Linked DNA regions of Homo sapiens: region 2 is linked to region 1. Evidence: promoter capture Hi-C in 16 types of primary human blood cells and fetal thymus (Javierre and others, 2016). All regions are on one chromosome and are shown on one strand. Each heading gives the region's core, a stretch centred on a gene start or on the middle of the fragment in contact. The rest is flanking DNA. Distances are from core to core; before and after follow the strand shown. Region 1 holds the start of LINC02610 (long intergenic non-protein coding RNA 2610). Region 2 overlaps UBE2F (ubiquitin conjugating enzyme E2 F (putative)).

Region 1 (5,737 bases), core at 1,469-3,968:
CTGGGAGATGTAGTTCCGACCCCTTTACTTAGATTTTTGGTTTTTTTTTTTTAAATCAGTTTTATTTAAGAATTTCCAACAATGACAACTCTTATAAAAAGCATCCAAGCACAGGACACAGAACTGCAGCAAACAGCATTCTTATGGGTAGCTAACAGACATTAGAACTTCTACCCTTCTTTGAGACACCAGAGTTCACTGCTGAACTCTGCTTCCAAGTCCTCCTGCAAAGCACACCACAAGCTCAGTCCATGTTCTCAGCCCATCAGCTTCAGTTCACATTGCCACACTTACATATCAGTAACAGAAGAGAACACACACCATACAGCATTCACAGCAGTTGACAAAGGGGTAGGGGGAGTACAAGTATCATTTCACTTAACACATTCAAATAAAGTGGGTTATCTAAGAACAAAAACTCAAAGTCTTCCAACAGATGTGGATGTCCTTTGAATGCAAAAAACATTCGTACATTATTTGCTATCATTGCTGTCTGCACACTGTCACCAAAGCCGCAGGATTGAGAAACACATCTCGCCAAGTTAAAAAATATCCGTTATGCACCACCAAGTCTCTGCACGTGCTCTCTCCTTTTCTCACTCATACTAGCCTTTCATGCCTCAGCACCACCGTCAATCCCACACAAGGTTTCAAAAGTTCAAACAGCCTTCTAGTTCCATATCACAGCCTTGCGTTCACAGCGTTGATACGACTCTATGAAATAAAGAGTAGCAGATAAAAATGGGACACCCACCGTCAAAGACGCGGCCTGTGATGCGTGATGACGAATTCTTGAATGAGAAGGCATGTAGACAGAAGTGTTCCTATGGCAGAATATTTACAGCACTACTTTCAACCAAGTGCTTCTTCCATAAACATTTGAAATGAGATGAACTGCAGAGATTAAATGAAGGCTTCATATTGTACTTTTGTGTTTGAGGGGAGACAAGTGTTAAAAAACAAAACAAAAGAACCAAACTGTGACACCATGATCTTCTAAAAGGAGATTTTCTTAAGGAAAAAAATCCATATGGTGGGGTTCAAATTAAAACAAGGAATAAAGAATGTAGTTCTAATTCATGGCTTCCATTTTGAACATGCAAAGAACTCACTTGACAAGTCCAGGGATAAAATATTACAGGAGAAACCTTCTGATATCAATTGTAGTGTGTTGGTTTACCAATCAGGCAAACAGCAGTTCACTTTCAACCACTCAATATTTCAACCTTTCATGTAACAAAACTTATAAAATTCCTTTAGCTGTTCCTTTTTCTAAAGAAAAATGTCAAAAATACTACTGAATATACTCCACACTGAAGAAACCAATTTTGAAAATTCTTAGTACATATGTATTTTACAATATACTTACCATGAGTTTAGAAAAATTTGAATTCCAACCATTCTATACCAACCAACCACAACCCCACTGTCTACGTTCCCAGCCAGAAGACTTAGAATCCATGCTTGAGCCAAAGCCGCCATTAAAACCACTGCCCGACCCTGCATTGGATGCTGATCCCCAACCAATTGTTGCACCAAAATTAGAACCACTACAAGAGTTATTTCCAGAACCGAAGGCCTGGTTTGGCTCCCTCTGCATGTTGCCTTGGCTTTGGTTATCATCCGATGGGCCTGGCTGCTTCGCTGGCTGGCTAACACACCCATCGTACACCAACTGCTCTGCAGCACTGCCTGGGGGGCAGCCATCATGGCTGGATTAATGCTGAACGCACCAAAGTTTATCCCACCACCCATATTACTACCTTGATTGTTTCCCAAACCAGCTCCACCCCCTCTACTCTTACCAAATCCACCCTGATTCCCAAAGCCACCTGGATTACCACCAAATCTTCCACTTCTTGCTGTCTATTGCTATTGCGCTTGGGTTCGGCATTGGATATGTGAACGCTGATTCCTTTCATCGAGTCCTCTCCACAAAGAGACCGCGCAATCTGATCATCTGCAAATGGAACAAAGGCAAAGGCCCTGAACGGCTTGGGGACGAAGACATCCATCACATCCCCATACTGAGAGAAGAACTCCCACAGCTCATCCTCAGTCATGTCCTCCGTACGGCGCCCCACAAACACTTTTCTGCTTCTCAAAGGCTCATCTTGGCTTTGCCGCACCATAAGAACGTCTCCAAAGGTACTACAGTACTCTTTCAGGTCCTGTTCAGTTGTTTTCCATGGGAGACCCAACACTATTAAATCGGACTGGTCTTTTCACTTTCACTGCTGATGAAGCTTCTGTCTCACCCATTTTTCTTTTGTTATCTTTCGGATAGTTGACAACATACACCGGATTTCTCCAGCCAGCATCGGGGGCATGCAGAATTCCTTCTACCAGCCGGACACCTCTCATACATTGAGACACCGGATTCCTGCAGCGAAGCCCACACGCCCCTGGAAACTGGGCTGTAACCGTGGACAGCAGCACCGTCCCATCGTCTTCCGATGGTATTTCAATGGGCTCATCGTTCTCATCTTCGGTTACCCGAATATATTCAGACATCTTTTACTTTTCCACTAGGCCGCTGCTGGGAAGCCCGACAGGGACACCGAGGCAGCGACGGACCCAAGCGCCAGTGTTTTTTTGTTTGTTTGTTTTTTGTTTTTTTAAAGAGGCCACCACAAGTTGAGGCGGGACTACAACTCCCAGAGGCCGCCGCGGCCCGGAGGCCACGCCCCTTGGCGGCGAGCTCTGAGCCCTTTGCCGCATTTGACACTCGACATCCTCGTGCTTCTTAAAGCACTTGCCCAACGGTGAGCAACGGCCTCCAACGGTGCCCGAGGGACTCGCGCTGCCCGTTAAGCAGCTTTGCGGTGGCGGAGGCTGGGCTGCCGTCTCTCCGACATCCCGGGACGGAGGAAGAGATGAAGGCTCTGCAGCCCCCGCCGCCCGATTTACGCTTGAGAAAGCGAAGGCGAGAGAGGTCGTCCAGCCCCTGGGGGCCCAGCCCTAGAGAGCGGGGCGCGGGCTGCGGGGCCCGGCGGCCTGGACGGCGGAGCGTTGAAAGCTCCCCCAGGGATAGGAAGTGCAGCCGAAATCAACGATTGAGGTCAGTGAAGGAGCGGACGCTTGAGGCCTTGGAGGGGAAGCAGGTTTCTCCAGGAGGGAACCCGGGCCTCCGCTTTGCTCAGCGCTCCCCTCGCGAATGTGTTGAGCACCTGTTATGTGCTGGGGGTACAGAGGTGAGACTCACAAGGCCCCTGCATTGTCTTTAAGATCAGCAAGACCCCGCAGAGAACCCAAATCCAACGCGCACTGCCCAGAGGCAGACACTGGCATTCCTTGATAGACGGTAGCCAGGGAAGCCCAGGTCTTACTAGATTATTATCAGTACTTGGATTTGAATGTATCTGAGAGGAGGAGGGTTAAGGTTTAAGCTGTGGCTCAGAAGCCCCTCAGCTCTTCGTGGAATCTCCCAGGCTTTTCACTCTTGCATCCTCATGGAAAAATACTGCCCTCCCTGGGAAACCATGCTTTCTGTGCACACCTGCTCTGTTCCCATGTCGCTGTACTACCTATTGACCTGTCAATGGATGATGACACTTGGGGTACTATCCTCTCTCCTCCAGATCTTGCCCCACCTTAACCTTGAAAGAATATTAAATGCGCCCTTAGACGTCAGGAACCATCCCTCAAACCTTGCCATTCCTCTCTGTTGAACCTGCTCCAAATCTTAAGTGCCAACCTCCATCTTATCCACTTTATCCTGGGGAACTTGTCCTCACACCCCGTTGAGGTTTCTTACTTATTGTCCTACTGTTTTCTTCACACTCCAGTTTCTTAAAAACAGTCTTCATTCTCATTTTCTTCATTTCCTCATCACCTGTTTGTCCCTAACAAAATTTCAGTATGGCTACATTTCCTGCCATTCTACTATAGAAAACTTCTGCCAGAGTCTCCAATGAACTCCTGATTGCCGAGTAGACTCTTCAGTTTTCTCACCCGAACTTTGCGGCATTTGATACTCAACATCCTCATGCTTCTTAAAACATTGTTCTTGCCAGAGCACGGTGGCTCACACCTGTAATCCCGGCACTTTGGGAGGCTGAGTTAGGCAGATCGCTTGAGCCCAGGAGTTCAAGACCAGCCTGGGCAACATAGCAAGACTCCATCTCTACCAAAAATGCAAAAAATTAGCCAGACATGGTGGCCCGCACCTGTAGTCCCAGCCACTCGAGAGGCTGAGGTGGGAGTATCACTGGAGCCCGGGAAGTCAAGGCTGCGGTGAATTGAGATCACGCCAGTGTGCTCTGGCCTGGACAATGGGAGTGAGACCTTATCTCAAAAAATTGTTCTCTGTCTAGTCTTCTTGCTCTTCTTGTTCCACCATTCCTTCTCAGGTTCTGGCAGTGGCTCTTCACAACTGGATATTAAATGTTGTCTTTTTTTTTTTTTTTTTTGAGACAGGTTCTCACTCTGTCTCAGGCTGGAGGCTGGAGTGCAGTGGTACGATCATGGCTCACTGCAACCTCGACCTCCCAGACTCAAGTGATCCTCCCACCTCAGCCTCCTAAGTAGCTGGGACTATAGGCGCACATCACCATGCCTGGCTGATTTTTGTATTTTTTTTGTAGAGAGAGATGTTTGTAGTGTTGCCCAGGCTGGTCCAGCAATCCACCTGCCTCACTCCCAAAGTGCTGGGGTTATAAGCATGAGCCACCGTGCCCGGCGAATATTGTCTTCTTAAATATTGTGCCCCACATTTCTTTGCTAGGCCCTCTTCTCTAGCTTCTAGGCTGTAATCTGTATGATCTCCATGGCTTCACCTGCTGTGCTACCAGCTGCAAAATCTATTTCCAGCCCAGCCCTCTCTGGAGCTCTCATAGAGTTTATCCAAATGCCCCTGGCTGTCGCCTCTCAGGAATCCCACAGGTTCTGCAACAAGTTCAAATGTGAACTCAGCTTTCCAACAAAACCTGCTCCTCCCTTCATGTTCTGGATCCTTCAGAGCAACAAGGGCATCAATCCTTCAGGCTGGAAACCAGACGGTCCATGGAGACACCTCCCTGGAGCCCTGCCTGGGCAACCTTGACCTCCCAGGTTCCAGGGGACACTGGAGCCCTGCAGGTAGCGTCCAGGAACTGGCAATCCTGCCACTTCAACAGGTTGAACGAACAAGAGGATGAGTCTTAGACGTCCCTTTCCCCCTGTCCGGCTCCTGCATTCGTAGTTCAGGTTCTTGGCTGTCACCTGGAGAATGGCAGTGGTCATTAAGAAAACCCCCACCTTGAAGGTTACGCCCTGAGCTTCAGTCTTTTCAAAAGCCCAACACTGCAGATTCTCAAAGAATAGTAGGCCTGGTCCTCACGTGGGCCAACTCAGAACTTACTGACTGCCTCCACACCCCCTCCACCACCTTCTGTCTCCATGCCCTTGCCAGATATTTGGTTTGCTGCATGGCCAAAGCCGCTGCTCTGCCCTCTGCATGCCTCCAGGTTTGGCTCAGATAGACTGCCTGCCTGAAGCCTTTCCTGGTCACTCCTCGTTTTATGCAGTTTCCAAGGCTTCTTTTATTTCCCTGACGGCATAGTCCAGATAATGTTTGCTTGTTCATTCCACAGTTGTTAACTGGAGGCCTGCTCTTTGTCAGGCATTCTTCTAGTTGCTGGAGACAGACAGCATTTCTTCTCAAGTTTATGCTGTTATGGGCAGTTAGGCTGTTGGGTTGTTGTTGTCTTTTTTTTTTTTTTTTTTTTTTTTTTTGAGACAGAGTTTGTGCTTTGTT
Region 2 (5,737 bases), core at 918-3,417, 200 kb after region 1:
GCACAGACTCTACCTTTAATGTTCTTGTGGGAGCCCAGCCAGTGCCATCAATTGAATGTTCTCTCAATAAACTGAAAAAGACAAACACACAGTGGTTAGTGAGGAGCAGCCACAGGTGCCCTGCACGCTGCCAACTAGTCCTCTCGGTGTGTGCCATGCAGGAGCTCTACTTTTTATTAAACCCATCTTTTCCTCTGTGGCTTCTCAGTTTTCTCTTGCTGAGGAAGGCATTTCCACCTCCAAGGTTATATACATATTCAATTATAACGTCTTGTGTTATGTTTATCTATTTGTTGTAATACTTGACATGGAAGTTTTAGGCTGAGGAAGAGCATGTTTAAAACAACACACAAAGAACATTTGTCAATTTAATATTCAGAAAATGACAATGGTGGCTGGGTATGGTGGCTCATGCCTGTAATCTCAGCATTCTGGGAGGCCGAGGCAAGGTGGGAAGATAGCTTGGGTCCAGGAGTTTGAGACCAGCCTGGGCAACACAGTGATACCCTGTCTCTACTAAAAATTAAAAATTAGCCAGGCATAGTGGTGCACGCCTGTACTCCCAAAGGTGGAGGACTGCTTGAGTCCAGAAGTTCAAGGCTGCAGTGAGCTGTGATGGCGCCCCTGTACTCCAGCCTGGGAATAGTGTGAGGCCCTGTCTCAAAAAAAAAAAAAGAAAGAAAGAAAGAAAATGACAATGGCAACAAAATGACAACATGACAACAGGAGTAACTGAAGCTTAGAGCTTATTATGTGTATGTCAGGCACAATCCTAGGTGCTGTGCCATTAAATTCACTTAATGCCTATAACCACCCGTGAAGAGAGCATCCCTGTTTCCCTGTCTTATACAGGAGGAAACCAAGGCACAGAGAAGACACGCCCAAGGGCACACGCCTCATGAACAATGTTGTTCTTCCAACCCAGGCAGCTCACGGGCACCGACATTCTGAAACACTGCTGATGCAGGTTAACAACAATGGGAGCTCCCAGCATATGACATTTTAATAACTGGGTTTTTTTTTTTTTTTTTGAGACGGAGTCTCTCTCTGTCTCCCAGGCTGGAGTGCAGTGGCACGATCTCGGCTCACTGTAAGCTCCACCTCTCCGGTTTTACGCCATTCTCCTGCCTCAGCCTCCTGAGTAGCTGGGACTACAAGGCATGCACCACCTACGCCCGGCTAATTTTGTTTTTTGAATTTTTAGTAGAGACGGGGTTTCACCGTGTTAACCAGGATGGTCTCGATCTCCTGACCTCGTGATCCGCCCGCCTCGGCCTCCCAAAGTGCTGGGATTACAGGCGTGAGCCACCACGCCCAGCCGTAACTGGGTTTTTTTTTTTATTTTTTTAAAGTTCAAAAGAAAAAGCTTGAGGATAAAAGATTAATGCAAAATTCTGAGTATCAATCACTCCTTAGGTGGGGGGCCCATGCTCAGGGAAGGCACACCAGGATTCAGAGGTCTGATGAAGCCCTGTTTCTGAAGCTGGTACCTGAGAGTCCTGGTCATTACTGTCTATCAGCTGTAAAGGCACACCATATACTCTCATGGAAATGATCATTCCAGTGCTCACTTCCGCAGCACATATGCTCAAATTGGGATGATACAGAGAAGATTAGCATTTTCCCAATAATCTTAAAAAGTAAAAAAAAAATTTTAAATAATTTTAAAAGGATTAAATGATCATTCCATACTTTGAAAAAAGTATAATTTATTGCCAAGCTTCCTTCTGGAGATAAAATTACTTTTGTATTTGTTGAATTATTGTGCTGTGGCTTTGATCTGTAAATAAAATATCAGGCTTTATCCATAATTGTTACCTCTGATAAACTTTTTTGAATTAGAGCATGTTTAAATTCACAAAAGTCAATTCAGATCAGGAGAAAAATATGTAGAGTTTGAATCAAAGCTATAATCTTAATTGTCTGTGAAGAGCAGTTAAAAAAAACAGATAACTAACCTTAAATTGACCATTAAAATTTACTTTTAGCCTTAAAAAGAAAAAAGGAAAACTCAAATCATGTATCCTACCAACTGGGTGGACGTCTTTCTACCCTACAGAGGTATTGGTGACTTGTGGATCTGAATTGTCAACTTCTGAATAACTTTTTTGGGAATGAAGTCAAATCCTAGTGGCTATATTTTGTTGAATGGAGGAATTATTTCTGATCTAGCTAATCATTTTCTTATATAGATCTTAATGCAACCTTCAGTTATATATTTGTCATTTATTTGTTGAATGCCTGTTTCATCCATAAAAGCAGGGAATGCTAATTCCTCTGCCAGTGCCTAAGCTCAATCAACATTAGCTGAATGAAGGAGAAGGAAGCTCACCCTGAGCTTTGCTGTTAACAGCACAGCCAGAGCAGGAGGGCTTTGCATCTGGCTGGGGCAGGTAATGGGGAGGCAAGGCCGGCCCCAGCATGTGGTGGCCACTGGTCTGGGCAGCAGTGAGGCCCATCAGGGGTGCAGTGCCTCCAGTCACTGAGGAAGTTCTAGCCTGGCCTCACAGAGGATAGTCCCAGCAACAGCTCAGGAGACAGAGACACTTGGCTATCAGAGATGTCATTAAGCAAGGAGACAAAGGACACCCCACGAACTGTAATAGAAGCTTGGACTCTAGGAGAAGCTTTGACTGAGCTCTTGACCTAGGCCCTCCAATCCCACAGACATGGAGCCTCTGACCTTGTGCCAGAGCAGGCGAAGGGTCCCTGCCGGGACAACAAGGTGGAGCCAGGGCAAATCTCTCTAAAAGAGGAAGGTGCTCCTGTGTGCCAGCACTGAAAGGCCTGTGGAGCCCCAGGCACCCATCAGTCCTGCTGTGGGAAGGGCTGATGAGCTGCTGTCAGCGTCACCACAAACCAGAGGTGCGGTTGGGCTTTTCCTTCCCTTTATTCGGGACACACCATAAAGCTGCCACTGGACACTGTCTGCTTTTCACTAACAAGGTGGTCCCCGTACATCAATCTGGCACATTATTTCCTTAGATTAAATCCCTAGAAGTGCAGCTGACAAGTCCAAGGGTACATACGAGTTACAGGTAGTCTACGTGGCTGAAGGACCAATGAAAGGTGTGCAAATACACACACCCTCCAACAAGAGAGCCTGCTCGCTCTCTGTCACACACTCCTCCCCCAGCCACCAAGTATCTACCTTTGTGCCTGCCAATCTGGTGAGTGGTAAGCCACACTTCATGGTCTTCTGCGCCTTTCTCTGGTTACTGATGAGAGTGAACATCTCCTCAGATATTTACTGCCCACCTCTATTTCTCCTTTTATGAATCACCTATTTGTAGCCAATGCCACATTTTTCCAGAGAAGTATCCGTCTTTTTTATAATGAATAGTAAGGACTATTTACATACCAAGGATGTTAATCCAGTTGATCATTTCTTCTTCCATTTTGTGTTTTTAATTTTTACATGGTCAAATCTGACAATCTTTTTCCTTAAGACGTCTGGCTTTTATATCAGGATACCATCTGTTCATCCTTATAAGGCTTTGCTAATCATCTGACTTCCCAGAAGACGGCAAAAGGGACAAGAGAGCTTCCTATTCTGGACCCATTTCTGACTAAGGCAGGGACAAGACAGGGAAGTAGAGTATGGCCCCCCAGAAAGTGAGCCAGGTGTCCTCACAAGCACAGGAGGAAGCGGGGCAGTGGGGGCCTGGGCCAAACACATTTATAACCTGCAACCAAAGATAGTGGAATTTTAATGTTTCAATACGTAAAGGACAGATACTTCAAAGGGAAGATGCTTTTTTAAAAAGGTATGTCTGGTAAAATGTATTTTTAACCATCTGTGAAAAACGAGGCTGATATTGAAGAAGGAGCAGTATATACAAAAATGAAATGGGCAAATGGGCACTAACTGTACTTGTGAAGAGAAAGGCATCCGGCCCGGCGCGGTGGCTCACACCTGTAACCCCAGCACTCTAGGAGGCCGAGGCGGGCAGATCACAAGGTCAGGAGATTGAGACCATCCTGGCTAACACAGTGAAACCCAGTCTCTACTAAAAAATACAAAAATTAGCCGGGCGTAGTGGTAGGCGCCTGTAGTCCCAGCTACTCGGGACGCTGAGGCAGGAGAATGGCGTGAACCTGGGAGGCGGAGCTTGCAGTGAGCTCAGATCGCGCCACTGCACTCCAGCCTGGGCAACAAAGCGAGACTCCATCTCAAAAAAAAAGAGAAAGGGATCCTGAGGTAAGATTTCCAGCAGCCACAGTTTACACATTTCCTTTCAAAGGTGATTAGTGTTTACTAAGGAGAGAGGAATGAAAGAAAAGAGATACGGAAGTTGAGCATGAGAAATGACTTAGGCCACTAATTGCATTTCATGTCAAAAGTAGGAGAAATGTGCTAAGAAAACACTTTGTGCCTACTTTCCAAACTGGCTGAGTGTGAGGCACATACAGTTCAAATACCTAGCCTAAAGTCCCACAGCTGCCCCGGGCAGCCGGGCAGGGGTGGGGGCGGGGGCGGCGAGCTGGACTCAGGTCCAGGTGGTCTGATATCAAAGCCCCTGCAATCAACCTTGCTGCCTTAAAGTGATGAAAGGGACAAAGTGCAGAAAAAATAAAGCCCAAATGTGAAACTTACTTTAAAAACCAACCAATCCACCTACACAACTTTTCCAGCAGCCTTAGGAGGAGAAATCACTGATGCCTGACGTTCTGCCCATGCCAGGGATCAGGGACACAAGTCACAGCAGGCATGAAGCTCCGAGAGGCTGCCTGCCCTAAGTGCCCTGACATCTATCAGGACCATTTTGGTAGAGAGAGGGCAGCTTAAATACAAGTGCCCAAGGTCGTCTCAAGCCTGCCATCTACATTTTTTCTCCTGGGTATCTATCATTAATCATATTTTCTCATCTTAGCTAAAATCAGCCACATGGAGGGAATGTGGTCTCTCATGTAAATAGGAGGGGAACAAGGCAAGGGACTCCAAGGGTCCATCCTGGGCAGGCAAGGAGGCTGCACTAAGAACTTAGTAGGGCTGTGGCCCCCAGAGGGCCAAGAGAAGACACTCGTCTGGAGGCAGAAGGTAGGGTAGGGTTTGGGAGCAGGCAGGCAACCGCAGCTACTTCAGCTGAGTTCAAGCCCTTCCTAATCTTGGCCATGCCTCAAAATCTTTTCAGAGGAGACAACATGTTTAAAAGCCCAACGCTTGCACATGACACTCACGAATGTAGAAGAAAGAAAAGACAATAAACTCACCTCAGACATATTTCCCCTGTCTCTGTGATGTTGGGGTGCCAGATCTTGGTCAGGCATTTCACTTTGGGAGGCTGCAACACAGAGACAATGAGAGAGATCACGCCGACAGTCTCTGCAAATCACATCTCCAGGCCAGAGCCTTACCACATCCCCTATCTAGACGCTTGTTTCATGGCTGACTCAGTGTGCAGTTTGACTCGCTGAACACGTGTTCAACCCTGAATACTGGCTCACCTCACCCATGAGGCATGTGTTGATGCGCTGCATCCACAAGGGCTAGTCTCAGCAGCAAAGTCTACCCGTGGGCTTCTGAGCACCTCTCTACAAGCCCCATGTGTCCTGCCGGCTGACAGTGCTGGTGACTGGACCTCTGTCACCTCCCACACCCCCTGGGTTTGGGACTGCAGAAGGTATCCACAGTGCACTCTAAGGAATAGTTCTACATCCTCTGGGTCCAAATCCAATCAGAAGCCCCAGATTCCTTTGCAATACAAGTTACTATGGCTGAAAGTTACTGCTCCTT

What was found. The method cuts DNA at HindIII sites, captures the fragments that hold promoters and counts their contacts. A CHiCAGO score of 5 or more calls a contact.
Region 2: a fragment that was not itself captured here is called in contact with the fragment with the promoter of LINC02610 in region 1 in 2 of 17 cell types (M1 macrophages and total CD4 T cells); the score reaches 6.5 in M1 macrophages.

What each region holds. Positions count from the first base shown.
Region 1 is chr2:238,228,658-238,234,394 of GRCh38, reverse strand. LINC02610 (long intergenic non-protein coding RNA 2610) reads left to right here and starts at 2,718. Exons shown (of 3, transcript NR_026926.1): 1 at 2,718-3,061. It also overlaps the pseudogene TARDBPP3. RefSeq lists an enhancer at 1-153. The HindIII fragment of the contact is 6,584 bases long and covers 2,249-5,737 here.
Region 2 is chr2:238,024,890-238,030,626 of GRCh38, reverse strand. It overlaps UBE2F (ubiquitin conjugating enzyme E2 F (putative)), which reads right to left. Exons shown (of 10, transcript NM_080678.3): 6 at 5,215-5,285; 7 at 14-71. It overlaps UBE2F-SCLY (UBE2F-SCLY readthrough (NMD candidate)), which reads right to left. Exons shown (of 19, transcript NR_037904.1): 5 at 14-71. It also overlaps the pseudogene RNU6-1333P. Among named protein-coding and RNA genes, the nearest start is that of SCLY, 33 kb to the left of the region's middle. RefSeq lists an enhancer at 1,916-2,529. The HindIII fragment of the contact is 889 bases long and covers 1,723-2,611 here.